Regions from separate parts of the Homo sapiens genome. Here regions 2, 3 and 4 are each linked to region 1. Evidence: promoter capture Hi-C in 16 types of primary human blood cells and fetal thymus (Javierre and others, 2016). All regions are on one chromosome and are shown on one strand. The core of a region is centred on a gene start or on the middle of the fragment in contact, and the rest is flanking DNA. Distances in the headings are between cores, read along the strand shown. Region 1 holds the start of PITX3 (paired like homeodomain 3). Region 2 overlaps SUFU (SUFU negative regulator of hedgehog signaling). Region 3 overlaps SUFU (SUFU negative regulator of hedgehog signaling). Region 4 overlaps SUFU (SUFU negative regulator of hedgehog signaling).

Region 1 (6,812 bases), core at 1,495-3,994:
GAAGCTCTATAACTAACCACATAGGAAAGTAGTCTCAAAACCAGACATCCAAAGACCATCCGTGTGCTACGATGCGCTATTTTTTTGTTTTGTTTTGTTTTTTTGTCTTTTGTTTGTTTGTTTGTTTTGAGAGAGTCTTGCTTTGTCATCCAGGATGGAGTGCAGTGCTGTGATCTTGGCTCACTGCAACCTCCACCTCCTGGGTTCAAGTGATTCTCCTGCCTCAGCCTCCCAAGTAGCTGGGATTACAGGCATCTGCCACCACACCAGGCTAATTTTTGTATTTTTAGTAGAGATGGGGTTTCACCATGTTGGACAGGCTGGTCTCGAACTCCTGACCTCAGGTGATCCACCCGCCTCAGCCTCCCAAAGTGTTGAGATTACAGGTGTGAGCCACCACACCTGGCCACGATGCTCTAGTGTAAAGCACCCATCAGATATCAGACGTGAAGAACCCCTCAGTAACTTCCTACACCTGCACATTGGGCTTCTGGTCGGTGGGTCCAGCTGAGGATCTAGCCTCTATCACCCAAAGAGAGTCAGGGAAAGAGGATATACCATCATAGCACCTCTTTCCACATTACCTCAAAGCCATTTTCCTCTTCATTTGAAAACTGAGAGTTGGTGTCCTGGGCCTGTCTCAGATTGAGAGGTCCTGGAAAGCCGATTGGAAAATCCTCTAAGTGGGCCAAAAATTTCTGCTCGCCAATATCTACTTCTACATACCTCCAGAAATTCATCATTCTAAAAGCATGTGATTGTGCAATAGAGATGGGGAGGAGAGAGATGACAATTCCCTAGTCCCTCCTAACCACTAATCATCATCTTACCAGGCAGAACATCTTCCTCATAGATTTCAGTGTGACATTTATTGAGATTCTACATTATGCCTGGGAATAACAGACATGGTCCTTACCCTCCTAAATTTTATTATCATAGCAGACAACACATAAGCTGATCCCTTCAATATGGTGGGTGGTGTAATAGAAGGTATACACTGAGGGTCATGAGAGCAAGGGGCTAAACTGAGAGTTCAGAAAAGGCTTCCCAGAGAAAATAAGACTTGAGTGGAACATTGGAGGAGTAGGAATTGACAATATAAAGATGGGTTACTTTCACAGGAAGGGCCAGAGGTGTGCAGGACACTACTAGGAAATTGGAGATGAAGACAAGGTCAGGTCCTGAAGGTCTTGTATGCCAGGCTAGGGAGCTTGACCTTTATCCTAAGGGCAATGGGAGTCACTGAACAGTCAAGACATGACTGCTCAGATTTGCCTTAGGGGCATATTGTGTGACTGGGCTTAGGCTCTTTTTTTTTTTTTTTTTTGAGACAGAGTCTTGCTCTGTCGCCCAGTCTGGAGTGCAGTGGCGCGATCTCAGCTCACTGCAAGCTCTGCCTCCTGGGTTCACGCCATTCTTCTTCCTCAGCCTCCCCAGTAGCTGAGACTACAGGCACCCGCCACCAAGCCCGGCTAATTTTTTGTATTTTTTAGTAGAGATGGGGTTTCACCGTGTTAGCCAGGGTGGTCTCAATCTCCTGACCTTGTGATCCGCCCGCCTCGGCCTCCCAAAGTGCTGGGATTACAGGCATGAGCCACAGTGTTTGGCCTGGGCTTAGGCTCTTCGGAGCACCCAAGCAACATAGCCTAACTGGGAGAAGAGAAGGAGCCTGTTTCCTGGAAATTGAGGCCTAAGTCAGAGAGGGCCGAAGTCACAGTCTGCCAGGATGTTCCTTGGTCATCTGTCCTGTCCCTTGCAAATTCCTAACCAGCAGGCACCAAGGCCACACCTTGCCCACAGGACTTAACCTGGTACCACCAGCGGGAAACCAGCCCTGCTGAAGGAGGGAGAGCACAGCCTAAGCAAGACAAGGGTACAGACTGAAAGGCAATGCCTTTGGAGTGCCCAGCCCAAGCCCTGAGATCCAGCAGGAACCTCCTCTTAATTGTTTTGCGCGGGGAGGGAGATGATAGTTACTCGTCCAAGTTCACTCAGTGATGGTGCAGTTCGTGGCAGCGTTGGAATACTACTTTGGTTTGTATCATTCCAAACCCTGCTGTCTCCACGAAGTCACCTTCCTTGGAGAAGAAGGGGGAAATGAAGAAGAGGAAAGATATGAGGAAAGAGGAGCAGAGAGAAAGAGAAATGAGTCTTTTAAAGTGGCAGAGGAAGGAGAATGGTAAACAGCAGGAGCGAAGCGGCTGAGGAGAAAGAAGAGGAAAGAAAGGCGAGACGTGGGAGGATTGGAACAGAGACAAAAGGGAGGAGAGACGGACAGCGACAAGTGGAGAAAATCGGCGAAACTTGAGTGGCAGAGAAGTCTGAGCGCTGAGACCCGGCGGCCCCGTGCGCCTTCCCACCTGGCGCCGATCCACTTTCCTCGGGGTAGCGGCCCAACCCACTTCGCTGCCAGCCGATCCCTTTTACCCGTGGCTACCGGGACCACTCTACTCTCGCCCACTTGGCTCTGCCTAAGCGTCCTAGCCGGAGCGCGGTCTCTGCCACGTGGGGAGGGGCGCGGCCGAGTTGCTGAAGAGCGCTTCTGATTGGCCAGAGGGCGGGGTTCTTGGCGTCTCGCCGGCCAGACCCCTCCCTCAAAGGCGGGGCCTGGAGATCCACAGCTGGAAAGGGCGGAGCCCCAGCAGGGCAGCTGGAAAGGGGCGGGGCCTGACGCGCGCGGCTCGCCGCGGCGGGCTGGGGGCGCCCTGGTCTGCCATAAAGTGAATGGGCGCCGGCTGGGGGTGGCAGTACGCGGTGAGGCTCACTCCCTCCGAGAGTCCAGGAGCGCCCGAGCGGAGAGGCGGCCCGGGAGCAGGGGGGCGGCCCCCACTCCGGCCGGGTGCCCGGCCCCTGGCCCCTGCCTGCCCTCTAGATCGCCGCCGCAGCCGCCGCTACTGGGAGTCTGCCTGTTGCAGGACGCACTGTGAGTGTTTGACCATTCTAAGGACAGGGGCTCATGGGGCCGAGGAGCTATTGCTGGACCTTGGAATCCCTAAAACGAGACCTGGGGCAGCTGAACTCCGGTGCCTTGGGAACAGGTCGAGAATGGGAGGGCGGACTGCAGACCTGGGGCCAGGACTTGGGAAAAGGGAAACTCAGGGTAAGAACCAGGGGATAGGGAAGGGGGAGACTCAGAGGATCCGGAACGAAGCCGGAGACTTGAAACCAGGATAGGGGCTTCGCGAGGCAGGGAGTAGGGAGTCTGGAAACCATTACCAGAAAGCGCCCTGGAATCCCAGGGCACGGGGCAGGCGGCCAGGGAGCGAAAGGGGTTACAGAGGCCCTGGCCAGCGGGGGAGCTGGCGGGGCGGCCCCCAGTGTGGGGGCAGTTGACGGCGCCCGATGCCCCTCGGCCTAGGCTCAGACTCCTGGGGCTGGGAGCCGGGGTGCGCCTGGTCGCACACGCTTCTCTTCCCAGCTGCTCCGCAGTTGGAATAGGAGCTGTGTTGTGAGAGCCCGGCCGCGACTGAGTCAGATGGCCGCTGTGCGGATCAGAGTGACCAGGCGGCGGGTATAGTGGATCTGGCTTGGGGTGTCTGGGCCCAGAAGGGTCCTGACTTGAGGCCGCCTCAGAATCGGACAGAATGTCCGCGGTGCATGGGGCTCGGAGCGGACAGAATGTCCGGGTAGCGAAGTGGGTCTCTCCGGAGCGGGAGTTGTGTCTGGCAGTGGCGGACAGAATGTCCCTGGCTGGGTGGCATGTCCGTCTACCCAGCAGCGCCTGCCCAGCTGCTGCGTGTGCGATGGGGTCGGCTGCGGTGGGTCACCTCAAATCCCAGCTCACACTTTGCAAACTTGTTTCAGCTCCTTCGGGCTGCGAAGCTGTGAGCAGGGAGCGAGAGTAAAGGCTACAACCTGGCCTTGGGGTGAGGTGGGCTGGGACACATGCCCCCTTCAATTCAGAATAGATCAGAGCATCACTCTGTACTTCCAGAATCCAAATTTGAGGACAGAAGGCCAATGAGGAGCCTGCTAGTGGGAATCAAGACCAGGAAAGGAAGGAATAGGTGACAAAAGGCAATGGGAAAACAGGAAGGAGCTGGGTACAAGCCCCTGGCAGCCTCAGTTGCCCCCTAATTCCAATACAATTAACCAGACACCCCCCAGACTCCTTGCTGGAGTATCAGGCGACCAATGGCTCCTTCCCTACAGTGGGCAGGAGCCCAGGCCAGAAGAGAAAACTACAGCCCCATTAGCAAAGCAAATCCTGTGGTCCTGTTTCCCTTTTTCTTCCTCAGCCCTACCAGTCCCAACACCACCCTGGTGGCTGAGCGGAGGTGGGAAGGAGGCTCATGGAATCCAGACTCTGGAGTCCAACAGGGGGCTATCTGGCCCTCTCAGTCTGGTTGGGAAGGATATCTTGGCCCTACCTAACAGCCGGGTTTACTTTCCCTGCAGCTGGGATACAGCCCTGACTCTGCTGGGCCCATACAGTGACCATCCACCCTGACCCCAATTCTAACCACAGCTCAATTATGCTGAAGAGGACAGAACAGGGAGAACGAGTCCATATAAGTGAGCAAGATAGCCCAGCTGGGGACTGAGTTTTCACAAGGACAAGTGCAAGGCATTGTATTTAGCAATGAGTAATCTAAACAGTGGTTTCAACCTTTCTTACCCTTCACCTGTGAGTGACATACAATACGTATTCCCCATACTCCCATGTCCATTCCTCAGTTCTAAAGTTTGCTTATTACTGGCTAGGATTCTCAACTTTTGTTTTTCATTTGCCCTATTTTGATCAATATAAAGACACACCACAATTATCCCCATCACATTCTGATACACTTTTCAGGGGCTTGTGCTCCCATTGCTGTGCTCCCATAAAATCACTGAAATTATAGGTGAAATGAAGGACTCTGTGTCAGGAAAGGAACAGGGAAAGCATTACAGATGGTTCCCTGAAGACTTTAGCTCAAAGTTGGCTTTTGCCAAAAAGGCCAAAGAGGTGGTATCATAATGAAGGTGATTGGAAACAAAAGACAGAACCTTTTCCCACCCTTGCATAAAGCCTTGTAACTGAACGCATGCCTGGTCACTGGCTCTTAGGAAGAATGTCATGGGCCTAGAGTAGGGTCAGAGAATGATTGGCAGAATGGGGAGCCAGGGGTTGCTGGTGAGGGCAAATTTCAAAGTTTAGTCCTCTGGAAGGTGAGACAGGATGGAAATCTACAGCATAATAAAAGACCTAGATATGCAGAAGAATTGCTTGCTCCCCAAATCTTGAAACTGGAGATGAGGGGGCCTTTTAGAACTGGAGTGATGCAAGCTCAGGATGAATAGAAAAATGTTCTTTGGCACACAGTGGGCAGCATACTTCCAGAGCTCATTTCCAGAGAGATGATAGAGGCAGGAAGTAGAAATGGAATCCTTCAGGGTTTGGAAGGATCAGCACATGTCAGAGTCACAAATGGCTACAGGGTGGAGGGAGTGAGGCATGGAAAGAGCAGAACTAGATGGTTTGAATCTCTTCAAATCTCTTCAAACTGTGTAACCTTGCATCCTGCCTTCTTAGAGGTGTAATGGGGATAGGCACTCCAGCCATGCAGGGCAGTTGTGCGAGTTAAATGAAATTATGTCTGTGAAGGCCCTCTGCAAATGGAGGAGCATCATATAAATAAGAAGCACTGCTATTATTATGCCCAAGCTGCAGAATCTTTGTTTGGAAAAGTGGGGCTGAGACTTAGAGCAGCCTAATCTCATCCCTGATGCAGCCATAGGAGGGATCTTAATGACAGACGGGCCACCCTATCGTGGACTTCAGATGCTGGCCACTACCCCTGCCGCTGTCTGAGAACTCTGGGGAGCTCCCCAAATGCTCAGCCTGTCTACCAGGCCAAATATCTCTGCCTGCCTCCTGCTCAGGGATGGGAACATTGGCCCAGGACTCAGGTTCAGGACGGGAGGGCAAACGCAGCAGGCTAGAGCTGACTTGTGGTGACTGAAGGATGGGGCCAGTAGAATCTTTTCTTCTCCATTCACACTAAATGATGCCTCCTAGACTAACCTGAAGGATCCATTAGGTCCTGAGCTTTGGGGTGTCTAGGGTGTCCATGGCCACTGCCAGGGACTCATGAAAAGAATGATGGGGAGGAAAAGGAAAAGATCATCAGTGGGGTAAGAGTTGGGGGAAGACAGAGAGGAATAACTTTCAAAACTCTATCTCTCCTTTCCCATTGTCCTGCCCCGGGGCCTTTTTTACACCTTTCAGTTAATAGTTTCTCCTTTCCTATTTCTTCCCTGCCCAACCCTTTATGCTCACCATGGTCAAATAAAGGTCACAAAGATGCTGTTTTTTGTCACACCCCTGGATACAAGCCTCCAGTGACCCCTACTGCTTGGTGCATTGCTTCTCATAGTGGGGTGGGCGGGGGAGGAGGGCAGTACGGGAGTGGAGGAGGCATGACACACAGTCTAAACAGGGCCCATCTTCCTGGTGTGGTGATATCACTTGAAGATTGGGGGGTTTTATATTAAAAAAAGCTTTATTTTTATATTAAAATATTTTATAATCCATGACTAAAGTATGGAATAGAACGAAAAATTTGTTTGCATTTTTAACATAAAGCTGGTGACCTCAAAACAATTTCATACTAGTGGCAGCTGTTTCAGGTCATGCTTCTGTTTTCTAGTAGATGTTGTTTTTGACTGGTCTTAGGGTTTTTTTCTTTATTCAGGGCTGTTGCTCAGTGTGAATCTTAGCGGTTTTTGATGAAAAAGCTGGACATACTGTAGCCTAGACTTTGTCAAATCTGAACCACTGCCCCTTGTCCCCCATTGGAGGCCCCCTCGGTTTGACTCGTTTCTCTCTG
Region 2 (6,812 bases), core at 544-3,043, 380 kb before region 1:
GAAAGGGGTCAGGGGACAATGGGGAGGGGAGGGAGGACACTGGGAGAGCTGGGAATGCTGCTCCCAGAAGGGAGATGAACACTGGTGGGGCCGGTAAAAAGGAATCTCAGGAAGAAAAAGGAACAGAAAAGAAAAATTAAAAGGAAAAAAAATTAAATTAAAGCTGCTGCCCAGTCAGGCTCTAGTGTCCCCCTCTGCCCCTCACCGTAGAAGGACAAAAGGAAACTGTTTGGATTTGGAATACAAGCCCTATCTGGAATCTGGAAGTGCCCTGGAAGGTACATCCAAGAATGTCTGAGCTGGAGAATCTGGAGATTGTGGACCAACGTCTCATTTTACAGATGACAAAGGGACTCCCAACTTCCATTCCCATTCACAGTAGCCACATCCTCCCAGGCTGGAAGCTCCCAAGCCCCTGACCTGCTGTGCTCGATCAGCCACTGAGTTCCTCCAGCCTTCTTTGAGGTTCCTCTTCTCTAGGTCACCTCCCAGCATTCCACGTTGCTGTTCTAGTCTGACACCTCATTGCCTCTCGCTTTGATGCTGAGTCTGGCCCCACTATTTGGCTGGCACAAACACCAACTTCATCCGCTAAAGAAGTTTTCACAGCCAATACCAACGTCCAAGGGCTCTCAGGCCCTCTAAAACCGGCCTTCCTCAATCTGCTGGGCCATTCTTCCCCACCCACCCCTCTCGTCAGGCTGCTAGGCAGAGCCAGGCCAAGCTGATCCCAGGTCTGCACCCCACCACGCCCTGGGTGAGGGTGTCTTTCCTCTTCCAACTGTGACCCCTTCCTTCACCCCTCCCCCTCCCTGTCCTTGTCCCCAGGGCCTCCCAGCCTCCCTCCACTGCAGACCCTTCTGTACCCCCAGGCCACAGCTCTACCTGTCTTCTCCCGTACACCTTGAGCACCCAGGTAGGGCACAAAGGAAGAAAGATAATGGGGTGAAGATCCAGGTGAGGGGCTCCTCTGAGGGGAAACCCTCCCTGTGAGGAGGAGAATTGAGAACTTGAAAAAATACCCACCAGGTTTCCCCTGGGAATTGTCAGCTGCCAAGAACAAAAGTTTCCACGCTGTGAGATAACAAGGAAGGAGTGCACACAGGAAGGTGAGCACACAGGACGGCTCGGGAGCTCACAGGACGGAGGTCTCTAAAGCAAGAAGTGGACGGGGTGGAGGAGGGAGTGAGAAATAAGAACACTACCCCCAAGTGAGCAGAAAAGCCGCCATCATACCGGGCATGCTAACTGCTCATCTCCATGTCTCCTTACAGTGGAGGAAACAGGCACAGGCAGGTTATGTAATTTGCTCAGTGTCACACGGCTTGTGAGTGGTTAAGACCATATCCTGATCATGTCTGGACTCTCAATTTAGTGCCTGGAGTACTGCTCCCGAATGCTGAACTCTCACCCCCAGGACACTAACTCATCCATTCATCCTTCCAGGGACACAGGCATGAAGGCAGCTCATTTCCCACCAGGACAAGCACCCTCTTTTGGCTGGCAAGGAGACAAGAGACCCAGCCTTCCCAGGCTCCAAGCCCATAGCAGGAACAAAATAACTCTGACCACTGGTCCACGTCTCCTCACCAAACTCTCTGTTCTAGGAGCTAGGGCCCCGACCAAGGACAGAGACAAGGCTTAGAGACAGAGCAGGAGAGGCAAAGTTGGCAAAGTTCGGGGAGGTGCACCCCTACAGTTCTTCCTAATTCCCCAAAGTGGGACTGGCCGACTCTGCCCACAGACTCCAGCCATACACGTACTCCCTCTCACAGCCTAAGCCCTTGCTCCTCCTACTCTCTTATCCCAGGGGTGTCCTCCCCAAAAGTTCAGTTTCCCCACCAGTTATCACCAGTCTGCTCAAGCAATACAAAAGTTACATTCATATTTTTGGCATTTCCGGGGCTCGTTGCCATCTCTGCAAATGCTAGCACAAACACAAGCATACCTAAAACCCAATTATATTACAATGGCTCCAGTCTGGGCCGGGCTGGGCTAATTTCTAACTCACAAATAACTTGGAGGGAGGGGCTTTCTGCCAGATCAGTAAATAGATGTGGGACTATAACAAGTGCTGGGGGTGAGATGGGGTGGAGGGAGGACAGGAAGAGGGGCAAGGGTTCACAGAGGCTGTGGCCACCCAGTGAGACGCCAGAGTTATTCTTCAAGGAAACGTAATGCCACCAACACTGAGTTCAATTCTAAGCTGGTTCCCCTGACAAAGGTCTGGAACTGGTGCTAAGGAGAGGGTGAGTTATGGTGGCTTTTAGTAGAGCAACGACCATGCGCGGCACCATCTGTGTGTGGACTTATTTTGGACTCGGTTGGGGGAGGGGATGGCCAGATCAAAAATGAGGACAAACCCTAGCTGCTCCTCCATTTTTGCTTTTGGTGATTTGCTGGTTCCCGCTGGAAACTTCACGTTATTTTAAAAGAATTAAAGGGGAAAAATTATACATGAGATCTACATGATATTAAAGGTGACATTCTCTGCAAAGAAACACGACAGACTGTCATAGCTCCAGGCACCTAATTTAATTTCCTTTGGGAGTTAAACCTTAGAAGGTTGGATTGAACAAACAGGCCCTGTTCTTTGTATATTTCAGACCTGGAGCTGAGAATGTTAACAGATCTTATCAACAGGACACTGGAGATAGACAGCTAAGATGGGGCAGCTCCTGGGAGCTCTCCCGAGTAACAGACTTGCCCTTGTGATGCAACTGTGGGAAAAGCCTGTGCAGTTCTGGGGCTTGGCACTCCTGAGGCTCACTGGGTCCCTACAGAGCTGCTTGGCTCTGTCACGAATAATAATGGGAATGGTGATGATAAAAATGACAGTAAAAATGGCCAATAGCAGAAGCAGTACCTCCACCATGTGCTAGGCGCTGTGCTAAGAGCTTGATCAGTGTCATTTCATTGAATCCTTATGGCAGTTCTGCTAGGGAGGTGACTATCATCCCCACTTTGCCCAAGGGTAGGTACCCAGAGGAGACAAGGCTCTGGACTTTTCTTTTTATTTTTTAGATGGAATCTCTTGCCCTATCGCCCAGGCTGGAGTGCAGTGGTACAATCTTGGCTCATTGCAACCTCCGCCTCCTGGGTTCAAGCGATTCTCCTGCCTCAGCCTCCCGAGTAGCTGGGATTACAGGTGACCATCACCATGTCCGGCTAATTTTTGTATTTTTAGTAGAGATGGGGTTTTGCCATGTTGGCCAGGCTGGTCTTGAACTCCTGACCTCAAATGATCCATCCGCCTTGGCCTCCCAAAGTGCTGGGATCACAGGCAAGAGCCACCACGCCTGGCTCAAGGCTCTGGACTTTAGAGGAACGGCTATCTGATCTCATGGTGATAGAGGATGCTCTTTTCCTGTCTGGGGAAGACACCCCAACTGTAGAAGCCTATATAGATGGGGATAACTTCTCTGTCTTCTGATGAGGGAGGTGAAGGTAGCTTTGGTTTTTACCAATGACCTGGAAAATCAGCAGTCCCAACCTCCACCAGCCACACATTTCCTGGCCACCTGCTCAACTTAAGAGGGCTAGAAGCCTGAGAGTCACAGACACTGCTAAAAAACCAGACTGGCCAATGAAAAGGAAGGCAAACCAATGCCCAGAGATGGTTCCCAAGTGGGGACGGTGGGGCAAATTCCCAGGCCAGCCTAGTGAATACATATATCTTGACAGTTCTCTAGCCCAGAAAGTAGCAGTAGAAATAATATTGATAACAGCACTCACTGATATTTGCACTTACCAAGAGCCAGGCAGAAAACACTTATGTTTGTACACAAACAGCCCTCAGAGGGAGGAGACCCTCTAGTAAGAGAGGAAGACCCTCAACCAATCTGAGCAGCACACTCCCCTGGGAAGCTTCTGAAAATATGGCGATGCTAGGCCCCATTCACACTTCCTGAATCAGAATACTCTGGGGTAAGGCCAAGGCCCATGCTTTTTTTTTTTTTTTTTTTTTTTTTGAGACGGAGTTTTGCTCTTGTTTTCCAGGCTGGAGTGCAATGGCACGATCTCAACTCACCGCAACCTCTGCCTCCTGGGTTCAAGTGATTCTCCTGCCTCAGTCTCTCAAGTAGCTGGGATTACAGGCATGTGCCACCATGCCCAGCTAATTTTTTTTTTTTTTTTTTCTTCTGAGACGGAGTCTCACTCTGTCACCCAGGCTGGAGTGCAGTAGCATGATCTTGGCTCACTGCAAGCTCCGCCTCCTGGGTTCATGCCATTCTCCTGCCTCAGCCTCCCAAAGTGTTGGGATTACAGGCGTGAGCCACTGGGCCCGGCCAGGGGCTGGAGTTTTGTCTGCTGTTTAACAGCAGACAAACAAGCTGGGACTACAGGCGCCCGCCGCCATGCCCGGCTAATTTTTTGTATTTTTAGTAGAGACGGGGTTTTACTGTGTTAGCCAGGATGGTCTCGATCTCCTGACCTCATGATCCGCCCGCCTCGGCCTCCCAAAGTGCTAGGATTACAGGTGTGAGCCACCGTGCCTGGCAATTTTGTATTTTTAGTAGAGATGGGGTTTCTCCACATTGGTCAGGCTGGTCTCGAACTCCCGACCTCAGATGATCCACCCACCTCAGCCTCCCAAAGTGCTGGGACTGATTACAGGCGTGAGCCACCGCACCTGGCCAGCACTTGTATTCTTAAGTGGTGCCCCAGGAGATCATGGTGAGGGGCTGCTGGGGAAATACTCAGGCCCACAGGGAAAGGGGGTTTGGGCACAGGCTTAACCAACAGGGGTGAGTTGGTGGCTGTAGCTTCACCACCATCAAACGGGCTGAGCTGCGAGGGGGGCAATGGATCTTGGTTACCCCCAGTTCCCACCTTTGGCCAGGGAGGGGGGCTTGGAATCTAGGCCAGCAGCTACTCCAGTGGGCTCACACCAGCTGCCTTAACCAGCTTGGCTGGGTGGTGGTGAGGGAGGACTGTCAACAACCTCCCAATTCCCCAGGCCCCAGCAAGTTCCAGAAAGGAACCCGAAAAGTGATCTTGTGTCAGTGCCTGCCCTGGGCAAGCCAGGCTGCACTGCAGGCAGGGGCCCAGCTGCTGCAGATCTGACGCCGATTCAGATGTCTGTGGTCAATGATATTTCTGAGTCTGCAAAGAGTGGCTGACAATGCCCACTCCTTCCCTTTGGTATGACAATCCACACTTTGTCCAGGGCATTGTTTGTTCTTCATGTTGACACGTTGTACTTGCTTCCCAACAAATTTGGCTTTCTTTTCCCTCCCTTTCCTCCTCTCAGGGAAGGAAATGTGTTGTTTACAGTGGAAGAGCCTGCCAAGGAGCTGCTCTGGCACCCACGATGGCAGTGGAGGAGGCAGGGACGGGGAAGCAGTCCTGTCTGCATCCCTTCCCTCCCACCCCCACTCCACAGGCCAGACAAAAGCCAGAAAACAGCCTGGAGAACACCCCCAACCCAGGTCAGGGACAGAGGCGTGTGGTGCGGCAGGTAGCGGGCTGCAGTTGGGGCACAGGTCTCGCTCATTTCCTGTTCTTAGTGGGCGGTGAAAAGTTGGCTCTGGTGGCCAGAAGCGGGCTCAGACTCCTGCTCTGGCTGTGGGCTGCCAGGGACACAGGGCGGCATCACAGTCCTTTCCTACAAGGGAGGGTACTTCCCCAGGCGCATTGCTGGGCTCTAAACCTTAATGGGTGTCCCCCTGGACAACAAGGTCTCGGGGCAGTCCAAGCAAAGGTCTCCAGGGAGAATAAGTATGCCTGGGTTCACCCGTGGAAGGAGGAACAGTAGAGGCACCAAAGAGGAGGTGCCCAGGGCATGGGCTGGGGATTCCCAAGTCATCTTCTACACAATATCCAAATGGGTAGCAGAAGGCAGGGCTTGCCCAGAGGAGAGCTCGGCAGCACCTTCCCAAGCCTGGCCTGGAGCAGCAGAGCCCACTTGGAACAGCTGCTGGGCGTCTTCTCCCACGCCTGGGGCTTCCCATCAGGACTGGCAGAGAATGGCTGGGACTAGGGGCGCAACCTGGGTGAGCTGTCAGACACCACACAGCTGAGAAAGCATTGCGGGGCCTAAAACAATATTCTCATATTTGGTGATGTGACCCCTATGTGACCGCTGGGGCTGAGACTTATCCCCCTTCAGATCAACCCTGGCTGGGGACGGATGAACAACTCAGCTCTGGGCCGGGCTCCCGCTCAGAAGACTAACAGCCCAGTGTTGACAGGCTCAAGGGAGAGAGGCTTGTTAAAGCCACCAGGATGAGGAATGCTGGGGGAAGGAGGTGCAGGAGCAGACCTTGGCAGGCCCCCTCCCAGGGTCTGAAGAGCCTCCTGCACAGCCCCGGAATTGGCTGATAAGCTTTACAGTCTCAGCAAGGATGAAAACAGCAAATGGCAGGGCAGACGGAGTCAAGGTGCTGTTCTCCAGAAAGTGAAAGCCTGTGGAACTGGAGCTGGCTTCCTGCACCCCCAGATCCTCCATAAAGCAGGGAGTGTCCACTGTGCTCCACCTGGTGCTGCAGACAAGCCCTGCTTTGCCACATGCTGGGGCCCTGACTCTCCTGGGTCTGGACTGATGGGGGAAGGCTGTGGAGCAGGTGGGTGTGGAGGCCTGTCTGGGGCCATTCCACAGGCTCCGGAAAGGGGCTCGGGTTCCTAAACCTTCTGCCTTTTCCTCTCGGCCTCTCCTTGTCACTCTTCCCCCTGCAGGATGTCTCTGCCACGCTTTCTCCCAAGAGATAACAGGCCTGGGCTGGGCTGGTGGCCAGAACAAGGTGCCAAGGCTGGGAGTGAGGGCTTCCAAGGCTGCTGTAACAAAGTCATCCCAGCCCCTCCATTTCAGC
Region 3 (6,812 bases), core at 4,313-6,812, 360 kb before region 1:
TCCAGTGTCAAGGTAGATTCCTGATTTCTAGCAGTGTACAGTTCATAGTACATGCCTTGATCACCCTACCTACACATAACAGACCAACAGAGTCTCAACCATGCTTCCCCTCCACCCTGGTCTCTCTGAACGGAAAAGTCTTAATTTTTCACATTCGCCTAAAGGGCATTGGTCCCATTCAGTCAGTGGCAGCATGGGTGGAAAGGAGAGGAGCTGAACCATTGAGACTCCTTTTAGCCACAATCCCAGTCCTGTGAGTCATGACGTCTGCAGTGGACACACGACTTGGGGCCTTCTCCTTGGGGATGCCCAGGAACAGGAACCAGGGCATCAAGCTTGGCAACTATTCACAAGTGAAGTGGATTTGGCCTGCTGAGCCCAGCCCAACCTCTGGCTTCTGCCCCTTGCCTGGGAGATTCTTCCTTTTGCTTTCTGATTGCTGACGAAAGCTCTGAACTTTCCAGAGAAAGAACCACCTGCAGGTCTCCCTTTAAGGCAGAACTGGAAAAGGGTGTGGCTGTGGGATCGAGGGAGAGGGGACCAGCTCACCTCTGAAGTTCTTATTAAGCACAAGGCTGTATAACCTGGTTATTCTGACAAATTTTCTTATAAGGACAATATAGGAGTAAAAGGCCACAAAAGGTGAATAGTAAACACCAATAACCAAATGACAAAATGCAGTATTTTCTTTTTTTGCTTTGAGACAGGGTCTCAGGCTGGAGTGCAGTGGTGTGATCACGGTTCACTGCAGCCTCAACCTCCCAGGCCCAGGCAATCCTCCCACCTCAGCCTCCTGAGTAGCTGGGACTACAGGCATGTGCCACCACACCTGGCTAATGTTTTGTAGAGATGGGGTTTTGCCATGTTGCCCAGGCTGGTCTCGAACTCCTGGACTCAAGAGCTCTTTCTGCCTCAGCCTCCCAGAGTGCTGGGATTACAGGTATGAGCCACCACACCCAGTTTAAAAATGCAATATTTGGCAGGGCACAGTGGCTCATGCCTGTAATCCCAGCACTTTGGGAGGCTGAGGCGGGCAGATCATAAGGTCAGGAGTTCGAGACCAGCCTGACCAACATGGTGAAAACCCATCTGTACTAAAAATACAAAAATTAGCTGGACGTGGTGGTGTGTGCTTATAATCCCAGCTACTCAGGAGAATCGCTTGAACACAGGAGGCAGGGGTTGCAGTAAGCCGAGATTGTGCCACTGCACTCCAGTCTAGGTGACAGAGTGAGACTTCACCTCGTGTTAAAAAAAAAAAAAAAAAAAAAAAAGGCAATATTTTCATCGGGAATATCCCAAAGGTAAAATGTGATCATGAAATCATGAAATGGTGGGACAGAGTATGGCTAAAGAAGTCAGGGTGAGTAAAATCTGCATCAAGGTTAGGGGATTTCCTAGTCAACTATTAACTCCTCTGGGCACCAGGGGCCGCCATCCCCAGCCCTACCCTCTGACTTGGGTGGGAGATTAGGACCCCTACTCTCCTGAATGAGCTTACTCTAGCCAGAACCCCAGCTTTCCTTTTTCTGAGACACTGAGTCATTTCCTTTCTCTAGCTCTTACCTTTGAGCCTTCCTTTTCCCTTCCCTGGAGAAGTGACTCACTGCTGAAGTGTTGGGTGACACCGAGGATCAAGGATGGGCGATAAAAATACCCCTGATTGTGCAACTCGAGGGAGGGGGATGCAGCGTTTGGACTGAGAATTCAAGCACCAGCAAGGAATTCTGAAGTTGAGGTGTTAACAATGGCCGTGACTTCATCTCTTTGGGGAAGCGGAGCAAAGAACGGAGTTAAAACAGAAATTTACCCATGCCAGACTTGCTGTGGAGCCCCTTGCTCTGCCCTTTCAAATATGTATTTCTGAGAAAGGCCTGTAAAGGCACTTGGCATGACAACATGGATCACAGTGAGGGAGGCAAAAAGGAGCCTGCTGTCCAGGACGCAGGGAGCAGAGAGGCCTGGGCTGTTCCTCTCATCAGCCCTGCAGAGTCTGGCTGGGGCCCTAAGAGAAGGGCTGTTTCTTTCTGGGCTTTCTTTCCAGTGCAAGCAACTGTACTTCCCCAGCGTGGGAGTGTGAGGGAAGCCAACGTGACAGAGAGGGCTCCAGGCTGGCCACTGCGCTGACAGGAGAGACCCCTTGAAGCAGGGTTACCCAACACTGCCCTTCGTGCGAGCGGCACCAGCCACAGCCCAGCTGTTTCCCCAGATGGAAACTCACCTTCCTTCACCCCAATTCACTGGTAAGTTGGATGCAAACAAGATATTTTCTTCCTCTAATTAATCTTCATGGACCTCACAAGCTGAGCAAAACAAAACACAATTTTCTCTAAAGGATGACTCCCTGGCCAGGTTACAAGGTATTCAAGATGGGAATTAGAGGGAGCAAAGTCACCCCAATCAAAGGCCAAACAGACAAGTGCAGAGACACTCCTAAGAGTAGAGAGAAATCTATGTATATGTGTGTGTGTGTATGTTGGGGAGGTGTTGCAAATGTGAATGTTACAGCAGAGGAATTCATGGTACAGAATCTTAATTCTCCATGAAATTAAGGCAAAAAAAATTTTTTAAAGGTCTTAAAAGCTGCTGGTGTGATTCTAGAAGACTGAGAAACTCAGCAGTGATGGTGAGTTCGCTTTTTAGAGGTGCCTCAACTACAAAGTGCTTCTCCCATAGTCAGGAACTTTTCCCCTCTAACATAAGTGTGCACACCTGCATGTGCCCTGTCCCTCTCTGGGAGGGCACACAACTCAGAGAGCTTCCTAAGAGTTCCCAGCCTCAGGTGGTAAGTCACTGGCTGAGGGAGGAGGTGGCCCTAGAATACTGGTGCAGGTTCCCAGCATCTGAGCAACAGTTTAGAGAAATACAGGCCAGGTGTGGTGGCTCATGCCTGTAGTCCCAGCATTTTGGGAGGCCAAGGTAGGAGGATCACTTGAGGCCAGGAGCTCGAGGCTGCAGTGAGCTATGATCTTGCCACCACATTCCAGCCTGGGTGACAGAAGGAGACCCTGTGTCTAAAAAAAAGAAATAAATAAAAGAAAACCTCTACACACAATTCACCTGACCACACGTATCTTCTGTGCACTGTAGAGAGACCAGACTCCGTAGACCATGTCTGACCAGGTGACCTCAGACAGAGAGGATGCCCAGGAACTTTTCCCTCCTCAAATCTCTACAGATATTGGCAGGCACAGTCTTTAAGCCAGGCTGTCCTCATGTGGCACAAAGGAACTGCTTCCCATCCTTCCCAAACTCACCCGAGCAGGCAGTGGGAAGGGAGGCGCCAGCAAGCTGAAGGAGGCTTTTCTCAACTGATCATCTTGGGAAAAGCCAGATACAGATTTCATGGCTGGAATGCAAGGGTTGTGAAATGCTGAAGAAGCCCCAAAGAGGGCCAAGGACTCTCCTTCCGGGAAGGCAGTGGGAGGAGGGCTGGCAATGAAGAGTAGGAGAGGAGCGGGTTACCCAGGGGGCCTGCCTTTCTGGAAAGGAAGAAATAGACCCTCAAAATGGAAAGAAATCCCCTAGCCCTGAGGTGGTAGAGGGACCAGAGAGAGGGTTGTTTTAGTTTCTGCACATGAAGAAAGTAAGGCCTTGTGTCACAAAATAATTTTGGTATAAATGAGCCAATTATGACATAGCTTGTTATTTCTGGGATTTGGAATCATCAAGGCTCATGGCATCTCATAGGAGTTATTTAACTCCCCTAGAGTTTAGTTAAATAAGCCCAATAAGCTTCTAATATGAGGCTTTGGCCTTGTCCTTGGTGCCATGTGAGAGGTCCTGATTCATGCTGCAACTAGTTAGATGAATTCTACCAGTAAAGGTCATTATTTTCTCAGAGACACAGTCTGATGTGTCCCCCATGGGGTCCCTGAGAATGGGGTAAGGAAGATTACATCCATTTTAATGGCTGATAGATGGCTGTAACTAAGCTCTACCCCTTTCCAACCTTGGAAAAGATACTTATTAGCCTCTCTGTACCTCATCCATTAAAGGGGAATATGTAAGATTATCGACCACAGGATGGCTATGAGGATAAGATAAATGAATGGCAGCACATAGTAGCTGGCACATTACCTAGCACAGAATGAGCACTAATAAGGTTTTAGCTGCTGCTGAAGTGTGAAAAGAGCAAGTGCTTGACACCCCCAAGTAGGCCGGCACCCGGCTGCTATTGCCCAGGCTTGATCAGCTGCTCTGAGCCTCTGATTTAGCTCTGTATCTTCCTTAGACCACAGACAAACCCGCGAAGACCCATGCATAAGAGCTCCCTGGCCCAGAAGTCCTGACTAAGGGGAAATCAGACCCGCAGACAAAATATGGCCCACGCTGGCTGCCCCCCAACAGGGAGAGGAGCAAACACTGGTGCCAGCACATTTTGGGTCAGCTTTCTCAGTTGCAATCCATGTGGTGTATGTGAAATGGGGTCAGGTCCCAGAGTGGGCAGCACAGATATTACCGTCACGCTCACTGATCTGAACTGAGTCCATCATCATCGATCCTGAGATAACAGGAAACTTGAGTCTGACAGGCTTGAGGGGTGTGTTGGAGAATGTTCTTGGCAAAGGAGGAGGAGAAACCATTTCTCAACCAATTGCTAACAAATTGGTAACCAATACTGACAGCCTCAGAGGAAACATTCTATTCCCCTCAGACTACAGGTCCTGGTGCTTTAGAGACCTTACTGGGCACTAAACCTTCAGGAAGGGGAGACAACCCCGGCACCTCGAATCTATTCTCACCCATCTCTCTGTATCTCAGCCAACTCAAGCCAAAGGGTAGAAGCTGCAGCCTCTCTGCCTTATGTTTACAGAGAACCCTTGGGCCAGAACCAATACCCGACTGCCCAGTTAGGGTGTAGGCTGAGAGTCTCGGCTTATGTGTATATCTAGGAGCACAGAGCCTTGTGCCCCATTGCAATGTCCAGGGGTGCAGTAGCTGGAAGTGCCCCCAAGCCAGGGAGTGAGATCTCAGGCCTGTTCCAGATACACAAGCGGGGCAAGAAGGTTGTATCTCTGCAGGAGCTTGTGCCCTTCTGCCTAGAAACCCCAGGCTTCCAGAGGCAGAGAGCCATCTGGACTGAGACTGTGTCCATGTTATAGGCCTTCCAGTACCTCTGGCCTGCCAACAGTGCCAAGGAGGCCCAAAGCGAGAAGCCAAGCTCAGGGAATGGGAAGGAGTGTAGACCCGGGACAGGGTCCAGACTCACAGGTAGAGAGCTTCCATATGTCGTATGACCTGGTGTGGCCATCTGCTGCTGCCAGGGGATGATCAGGATGCCTCCAGCCAGCTACTTCAGGGCAGCTGGCTGGAGAAACCTACAGGCCGGAGTTAAAAGCTGCTCTGAGGTGGCGGTGGAGGCTTCTCCAGGCTTTTGCCAAAGAGCTCAACTCTCAGTACAGCCCTGTTCCCAGAGTAACTCTAGTTCCAGTCAGGTCCCAGCAGGCAGCCTCAACTTTAACCAGCCAGGCCTCCCCTGTGCTATCCTCTTGAGTTCCTTCCCCTGCTTATTAAAATTCTAAGGTGCCCTCAAGGTCGATGCTATGTTCTTCCTCCTCCAAGATGCCCTCCCTAACTACCCCAGATCCTGTGGACCTGTCTTTTCTGTAGTGCACTGAAGCATTACTACTTCTGGGAAACACGATCAGCAACTAGAGCTAGAATCCAGAGAAGCAGCCATTTCCAACAAATCACATCGACAGCCAGATGCACACCATTAAAAGGTAACTGTTTCACTCATGTTCTCCCAAAGGAAGAGCCTGTGCACCCCAGATGGCCCCCTAGGTCCGAGCTTGTCAGACAGCAAATGTGTAATAAAGACTTCATAGAAGAAGGCTAGATCACCCTGGTCTTGCAGGATGATCAACCTCCCTTTCAGCCCAAGGCACAGCAATTTCCTCCCTGGCAGGCAAGGTTCCTGCTTTGGGCTGCCAGCCCCCAGGTATCTCCTGCCAGCAGCTATTCCCTAGAGCTGCCCTGGGACTAAGGGCAGAGGGGGGTGCCCAGCTTCAGCCCTGCCTATCACTCATCCCCTCTATCAGAGGAAGAGAGGTTGGCAGGAAGCGGATCTGACCTCTAGGGTGGCCACAGTCTCTCCGGAGGGCTACAGGGGCCCCTGGACAGGCAGCAGAGGCCTGCAAAAGACTTCCTTTCCCTTCCCTGGGCCCCAGGGAAGAGAGGCAGGAAGAAGGGCCTCAGCCACAGGCATCCAGTATGGGGCTGGCCAGAGAGGGAGGCCCCCAGGGTTGCAGCTATCAGCCGGAGACCAGGCTCCAGGAAGGAAGGAAGGGCAACTCTGGCCAAGACTGAGATAAGGAGGGAACCGTGCTCAGCACAATGGGCTCCCACAAGGCTGGGAGGCCCCAAGTCAGATTTCTCCCCAACCTGGCCTCCTGTCTGTTCACACGGCTCATGTAAATATTTACTGATGTTAATATTCACGGTCTGCTGGGTCCCCTCTGAGGCCCTCTCCTATGACCCACAGATAGATCTGTGTGCCCCAGACCATGCCTGCCCTTAAGCCTAGAGATCCTGGGCCCATCCAGCAAGGGCTATGTGCATTGTTCTCTCTCATGCAATCCACAGGGACAGGCCCTTCAGAAAAAAGTCGTCCTCTTGTTCCAGCCCAGGGACACTGGGGAACTTACGGGGCCCGGTCGTGGGCGAGGCCATTCTGCCGCTGAGGGTTGATTGGTGGAAGGACAGGTTTGCTGTTGATCTCGAGTCCTCTCCTCAGGGTCTCCCGGATCTGCTCTGTGTCTGCAACGACACCACTAAGTTGCCCAGTGGCCCAGTGGGCTCCCAGCAAT
Region 4 (6,812 bases), core at 4,313-6,812, 270 kb before region 1:
TTTGAGATAGGGTCTCGCTCTGTTACCCAAACTGGAGCGCAGTAGTGCAATTATGGCTTACTGCAGCTTCAAACTCCCAGGCTCCAGTGATCCTCCCACCTCAGCCCCCCAAGCAGCTAGGGCTACGATGCACACCACCATGTCTGGCTAATTTCTGTATTTTCTGTAGAGATGGGGGAGGGTCTCACTATGTTCCCCAGGCTGGTGTCAAACTCCTGGGCTCAAGCGATCCTCCTGCCTTGACCTCCAAAGTGCTAGGACTATAGGCATGAGGCACCATGCGCAGCCTATAGAAGTACTTTTGACTTCTGCAACATAGACCAGAACTGGGTAAATATCTGAGAACATTCCTTCCACATTCTTCTAGTGCCAGGATGTAATACTGGAAAATACTAGGCTTGATTGGTGACATGAAAACCCAAATAGAGGTTTCACTCTTGTCATAAATGACATATGAATACAAAGTGCTGTACCATGTAGAAATGAAACACATGTAAGAGGATAGTATTAAACCAGAAAAAAACAATAAGAAAGGTCCTATTTCAAATTAAGAGGTTGCCCCTTCTGAAATATGAGGCTTGCTCAATCACATTCTTCATGTTATTTTGGGCCTTGGGCCTATACCTAGCAGGTAGACTGGAAGAATCCTTAAGCCACATAGGAAATGATATTCTTTTAACCAGAATAAATCTGTCAACAAAAAGGTACAGGCTAGCTGCACTAAATACTCTCTGCAGGTTCTTATTAAAAATATAAATTAAGGTCCAGCATAGTCTCTTTACTCCCCACATCTGTTTGCTATTCTATCTCCATTATTAATACTGTAATGCTGGGTCCCCATTCAGGCAAGATTAATTCCCTCTTCCCAAATCCTTCTGCTGACACTGCAATGAATCCATTTGGAAGGCTGTAAAGGCAGCTGCAGACATTGCTCCCAACACGTGACCAGCGAAGAGATGAAACCTGGGCCTCTGAGCTTAACAAGAGAGAAGAGGAAGTTGGGTTAGGCCTGTGTTCAGAGAGGTGGAATAGCCCAGTGGTTAAAAGCTCAAACTCTGAGGCTGAATACAGTGGTTCACGCCTGTAATCCCAACACTCTGGGAGGCCAAGGCAGGAAGATCGCTTCAGCCCAGGCATCTGAGACCAGCCTGGGCAACATAGTGAGACCTCAACTCTACAGAAAATTTGAAAAATTAGCCAGGTGTGGTGGTGCATGCCTGTAGTCCCAGCTCCTTGGCAGGTTAAGGTGGGATAATTGCTTGAGCCCAGGAGGTTGAGGCTGCAGTGAGCCATGACTGAGCCACTACACTCCTGCCTGGGTGACAGAGCGTGACCCTGTCTCAAAAAACAAAACAAAAAAGCTCAAACTTTGGACTCAAACAGCCCAATTCAATCCCAGCTCTTTTACCCCTAGATCTGTAACTTTAGCAATTCATTTAACCCCTCAAGAGACTCATTTTTCTTATCTATAAAATAGGAATAACGAGACCCTGATAAGATTGTAAAGCATTTAACACAATGACACGGAAGACAGTAAGTACTAAACAAAGGGAAAAAAGGCTATCATCATCTTCTTTATGATACCATCATCATCTCCAGAATTGGTCGCTATGCAAAGGCAGGACAGGACGAGTCCTGCTACTCTTTCAACCTGCCCAGGTTAAGCAGCCACCACCAAGATAGAAAAGACATGGTATAAGGGGCAAAAAAGTACAAAAGGCAAAAACCAGAAGAGGATATGACAATACAAATAAAATCAGCTCTTGATTAACCATGCTAATGAGGTTGAGGGAAGACTATTTATTTTATTTTTAATTGACAGAATACAAACATAGAAAGATTACATTTAAATTGAAGAAAAGAAACTCTCCATCAAAAGAATATAAATAAAAAAAACTTTGTTTATTTTCATTATTATTATTATTATTATTACTTTTTTTTTTTTTTTTGAGATGGAGTTTCACTCTTGTTGCCCAGGCTGGAGTACAATGGCACAATCTTGGCTCACTGCAACCTACTCCTCCCAGGTTCAAGCAATTATCCTGCCTCAGCCTCCCTAGTAGCTGGGATTACAGGCATGTGCCACCACGCCCGGCTAATTTTATTATTTTTAGTAGAGACAGGGTTTCTCCATGTTGGTCAGGCTTGTCTCAAACTCCCAACCTCAGGTGATCCGCCTGCCTCGACCTCCCAAAGTGCTGGGATTATAGGCGTGAGCCACCACACCCAGCCTAATTATTATTTTTTTAAGACACAGTTTCACTCTGTTGCCCAGGCTGGAGCACAGTGGCACGATCTCAGCTCACTGCAACCTCTGCCTCCCAGGTTCAAGTGATTCTCGTGCCTCAGCCTCCGGGGTAGTTGGGAGTACAGGCACATGCTACCATGCCTGGCTAATTTTTTGTATTTTTAGTAGAGACAAGGTTTCACCATGTTGGCCGGGCTGGTCTCGAACTCCTGACCTCAAGTGAGCCACCTGCCTCAGCCCCACAAAGTGCTGGGATTACAGGCATGAGCCACTGTGCCCAGCCAAAAAAAATCTTTTTAAAATATAGATGGTAGCAGGCCGGGCACAGTCGTCACGCCTGTAATCCCAGCACTTTGGGAGGCCGAGGCAGGCAGATCACGAGGTCAGGAGATCAAGACCATCCTGGCTAACATGGTGAAACCCCGTCTCTACTAAAAATACAAAAATTAGCTGGGCGTGGTGGTGGGTGCCTATAGTCCCAGGTACTCAGGAGGCTGAGACAGGAGAATGGCGTGAACCCGGCAGGTGGAGCTTGCAGTGAGCCAAGATCACCCCACTGCACTCCAGCCTGGGCAACAAAGCGAGACTCTGTTTCTAAAAAAAATAGTTGGTAGCTTATTGGAGTACATGATATAATTGCTCAAAAGGCAAGAGAATACAGTCATTAACAGTATGAACTCTGAGTTGGGCACAGTGGCTCACACCCATAATCCCGACACTTTGGGAAGCTGAGGTGGAAGAACTGCTTAAGCCCAGGAGTTTGAGACCAGCCTGGGCAACATGGTGAAACCCTGTCTCTACAAAAAAATTACAAAAATTAGCTGGGCATGGTGGTGCTTGCCTGTCGTCCCAGCTACTCGGGAGGCTGAGGTTGGAGGATCACCTGAGCCTAGGGAGGTCGAGGCTGCAGTGAACCATGATCATACCACTGCACTCTAGCCTGGATGACAGAGTGAGACCCTATCTCCAAAAAAAAGCATATAGGGCAACAAACGGAAGCAGACTAAGATAAAAAAATAAATAAATACAGGTTAAAAGGAAGTAGGTAAGATAGATAAAGGATAAGAGATGAACAGATTTGTGATAAAGCAAGTATAAAGTTAACAGTAGAATCTGGGTTGTGGGTATATGAGTGTTCACTATAAAATCCTTCCAACTTTGCTTTATGTTTAAAATGTTTCATAATAAGCTAGGGGAATAAAAGGAAGTAGACACAGAGGCATCAGCCCAAGTTCTGAGTCATAACCATGCTACCTTCCTGTCCTATGAGCCCAAACTCCAGGGCAAGCTTAGAAAAACCTGATTTGGGAATCCTGCTCATCAAGACTTTCCTGCACTAGATAAGCAGGAATCAGGTGTTAACGAGGACCACCTTGGCATGAGTAGATATAGTCAGAGGGCAGAAATGCAGAGGTTCCACGGAGAAGTACCATGCTCACAGCACTATGACATTGTCACCCCTGCTCAGGAAGACCTCAGGAATAAGGCTCTGGATAAAGAACAGGTGGCATATACTCACTCATGGACTCTGTTGTCACCATAGAGATCACTCAGGCCGAAGCTGATGTAGTGCCAGTGCTCGGGGATGTTAGCAGAAGGGCTCCCCACATTCCTGTACATGCTAACATAGTCCAAGGGGTCTGGGCCACCCAACCTGCAAAAAACAAAACACAGGGGTGTTAGTGTAAGCCTGGAAATCAGACAATGTCAAGCTAAGGCGCTCTACTTTGTAAACCTAAAGGACCCATCCTGGAGGAACCTGGGTGAAAGGTAACTAAACAGAGGCCACATCTCTCCAGAATGAGACTAAGGGATGGACAGCTAAGGCTGCCCAACTCTGCAAGCCCAAGAGGCTCCCTTCTCCTACCCCTGAAAGACTGGGCCTCTTTTAGAAATAAAACAGACTGGATGGTTACCCATTTTGCTTTCTCCTGTTTCAAATTACCGATCCCAAATGAGATTGGCAGGGATTGTCTCTCTTCTGTGGTGCCTGTATACATGCCAAGCTTCAAGGCAAGAGGTACATCAGTCAATCAATTGGCCTCTGTTGAAAGACCATCCCAAGCATCCCCAATGGGCATTGTTCCTGGAAGCAGAGGCTCTGCTCCACTCCAGCCTCTTAGACAGCTAATTCCTGAAAGACTATATTGTGCCCTATGTTAATTACAGTTTGTTCTAAACAAACCCAAAGCCTCTAGTCTGTGCTGACACCAGCCTGCACCCCATAGACCAAAGCTGGTCTCTTATCATTGCAAGTGACAAAGGCCAAACTTAGGCTTAACTTAGTTCTGCACAGAGAACTGCAGAAGGAGTCAAACTGCGCCCTGTGAGCATCTGCACCCAGAAAATGATCCCAGGAGAGACTGCCACATCAAAGGTAGAGCTGGGATGGTAAATGATTTGGGGCCTCTCAGGACCACATTAAATTTCCCCCACCATTCAACTGAGAAGGAGTTGCGGAAGAGATTCAGTTATTATCTCACTCTGAGGATTTAATACAATAAGAGTTCCCTTTAGTAATCAGTGCTTTTTAAAAAAAATCCTGTTTTGGCCGGGCACGGTGGCTCACACCTGTAATCTCTGCACTTTGGGAGGCCGAAGTGGGTGGATTACTTGAGGTCAGGAGTTTGAGACCAGCCTGGCCAACATGGTGAAACCCCATCTCTACTAAAGATACAAAAAATTAGCCAGGTGTGGTGGCAGGTGCCTGTAATCCCAGCTATTTGCTATTTGAGAGGCTGAGGCAGGAGAATCGCCTGGACAACAGAGGCAGAGGTTGCAGGGAGCCAAGATTGCGCCACTGCACTCCAGCCTGGGTGACAGAGTGAGACTTTGTCTAAAAAAAAAAAAAAAAAAAAAAATGGATAAGAAATTTTGGTAGCTAGAGAAATAGACCAAATAGAAACCATCAGTGGAAGGAAGTCTGCATTTAGCCCACAAACACGGCATTTGAGCTGCCTCAAACATCTGACCATTCCACAGACTGCAAAAGCTTCACCTGCCCCTGGGACATCGATGGAGTACACTTTGCAACTGGGATAGCATGCTGGTGGAAAGCTAACAACCAAATAAAAGACATGTTACAAGTGATCCCAGTCAATGGTGCCAGCACCAGGCAATTTAAACACTATTTAAAACCAGTTGGTCTTGTTTCGTCCTCTTTCACCAGGATATTATTTGCCTTTGTGGATAGAAATCCCTATTCTCTGTTAGGAAATGCTAAGTTATTTATAGAACTTTTAAGAAAGTTGCTACAAATAGCTTAGCATCTCAACAGAGGAAGAGGGACAACTCTCCATGTCTGCCTTAACTGATTTCAACAAATCACTTGACTAATTCTACAACAGGTTGGATTTAGAAAAGTTTGTGGGGCAAGGGAAGAAAGAAAAGAGTAGAGATCCCTGGAAAGACCCCATTAGAGCTACAGAACTCCAGAGCAGATGAGAGCCACTACAGGCCCCATACCTGCTCCAGTTTCCTGCTGCAAATTTCCAAACCTGCCCCGCTACAGCCTAGGTCCATCCTGCACCAAGCTGCAAAACTGTGTTTACCATTCTCTGCTCCATCTGCAGCATCCCTGCAGCCCTCTTTCTCACCAAGTCTCCCACAAGGTGTCACATCAAGGAGAGAAGCTTAACCTTCAAACTCCAACTGCAAGGAACTACCAAGAGTCAGATAAAATTAACCCTGTCCCCAAGCACAGAGTATTCTGTTTACTTACTACTCAGAGGCCAGATGAGTATGTGGAAAAAAATCGCATTTTACACTTAGCAAATGATGTTATCCAAGGTCCCAGGGCATCCCTCAACTTAATTCCTTGAACACCCAACTTCTCTCTGCAGGGCAGTTGCAGGACTGAAGTGGGCCATGAGTACAGGTTCTGCCTCTCTGCTTTGATCCTTGCTCACCAAAGTCTCAGCTTTCAGTTAGAATGTCCCCACTACTCAGGGATCACCAGTCACAGAGCCACACTGCTATTGCAAAATGAATCCCAAGCTACCCTGGGCCACAGACAGACCCAGACAGCCTGGGTCAGTCATCCTGCTAGAAACCTCGTGGGATCCCAAATGTGAGGAATATAAATGAATTTCAGGATCTTATTTTTGCAAACCCCTCCACATCTTAGAAAGTACCAGTCACTGATGGCTGGTCGCACTGGCTCACGCCTGTAATCCTAGCACTTTGGGAGGCCGAGGTGGGTTGATCACTTGAGGTCAGGAGTTCGAGACCAGCCTGGCCAACATGGTGAAACTCTGCCTCTACTAAAAATACAAAAATTAGCTGGGCAAGGTGGCGTGTGCCTGTAATATCAGCTACTTGGGAGGCTGAGGCACGAGAATCGCTTGAAACCGGGAGACAGAGGTTGCAGTAAGCCAAGATCGTGCCACTGCACTCCAGCCTGGGTGACAGAGCAAAACTCTGTCTCAAAAAAAAAAGAAAGTACCAGTCACTGTGCTGTTTCTCTTTATACTTTTCTGCATCTAGGAAGGGCTTTCACAAAGTGCTGTATAATCCCTTTTCTTCATTATCACATGTTGGCCCATCTCTGAAGATATGGCTGTTA

What was found. The method cuts DNA at HindIII sites, captures the fragments that hold promoters and counts their contacts. A CHiCAGO score of 5 or more calls a contact.
Region 2: a fragment that was not itself captured here is called in contact with the fragment with the promoter of PITX3 in region 1 in 1 of 17 cell types (activated CD4 T cells); the score reaches 5.2 in activated CD4 T cells.
Region 3: a fragment that was not itself captured here is called in contact with the fragment with the promoter of PITX3 in region 1 in 7 of 17 cell types (erythroblasts, activated CD4 T cells, total CD4 T cells and 4 more); the score reaches 7.7 in erythroblasts.
Region 4: a contact is called between a fragment that was not itself captured here and the fragment with the promoter of PITX3 in region 1, in 1 of 17 cell types (activated CD4 T cells). The highest score is 6.9, in activated CD4 T cells.

The regions. Positions count from the first base shown.
Region 1 is chr10:102,237,444-102,244,255 of GRCh38, reverse strand. PITX3 (paired like homeodomain 3) reads left to right here and starts at 2,744. Exons shown (of 4, transcript NM_005029.4): 1 at 2,744-2,923. It also overlaps a transcript of GBF1 not described here. RefSeq lists a silencer at 2,593-2,882. The HindIII fragment of the contact is 9,988 bases long and covers 1-6,485 here.
Region 2 is chr10:102,620,151-102,626,962 of GRCh38, reverse strand. All of the region lies in intron 10 of SUFU (SUFU negative regulator of hedgehog signaling), which reads right to left. Among named protein-coding and RNA genes, the nearest start is that of TRIM8-DT, 20 kb to the left of the region's middle. The HindIII fragment of the contact is 4,153 bases long and covers 1-3,869 here.
Region 3 is chr10:102,599,383-102,606,194 of GRCh38, reverse strand. SUFU (SUFU negative regulator of hedgehog signaling) reads right to left here. Exons shown (of 12, transcript NM_016169.4): 8 at 6,651-6,762. Among named protein-coding and RNA genes, the nearest start is that of TRIM8-DT, 40 kb to the left of the region's middle. RefSeq lists enhancers at 1,276-2,475, 5,693-6,443. The HindIII fragment of the contact is 3,650 bases long and covers 3,738-6,812 here.
Region 4 is chr10:102,506,259-102,513,070 of GRCh38, reverse strand. It overlaps SUFU (SUFU negative regulator of hedgehog signaling), which reads right to left. Exons shown (of 12, transcript NM_016169.4): 2 at 3,768-3,902. Among named protein-coding and RNA genes, the nearest start is that of SUFU, 5.7 kb to the right of the region's middle. RefSeq lists an enhancer at 765-904. The HindIII fragment of the contact is 640 bases long and covers 5,243-5,882 here.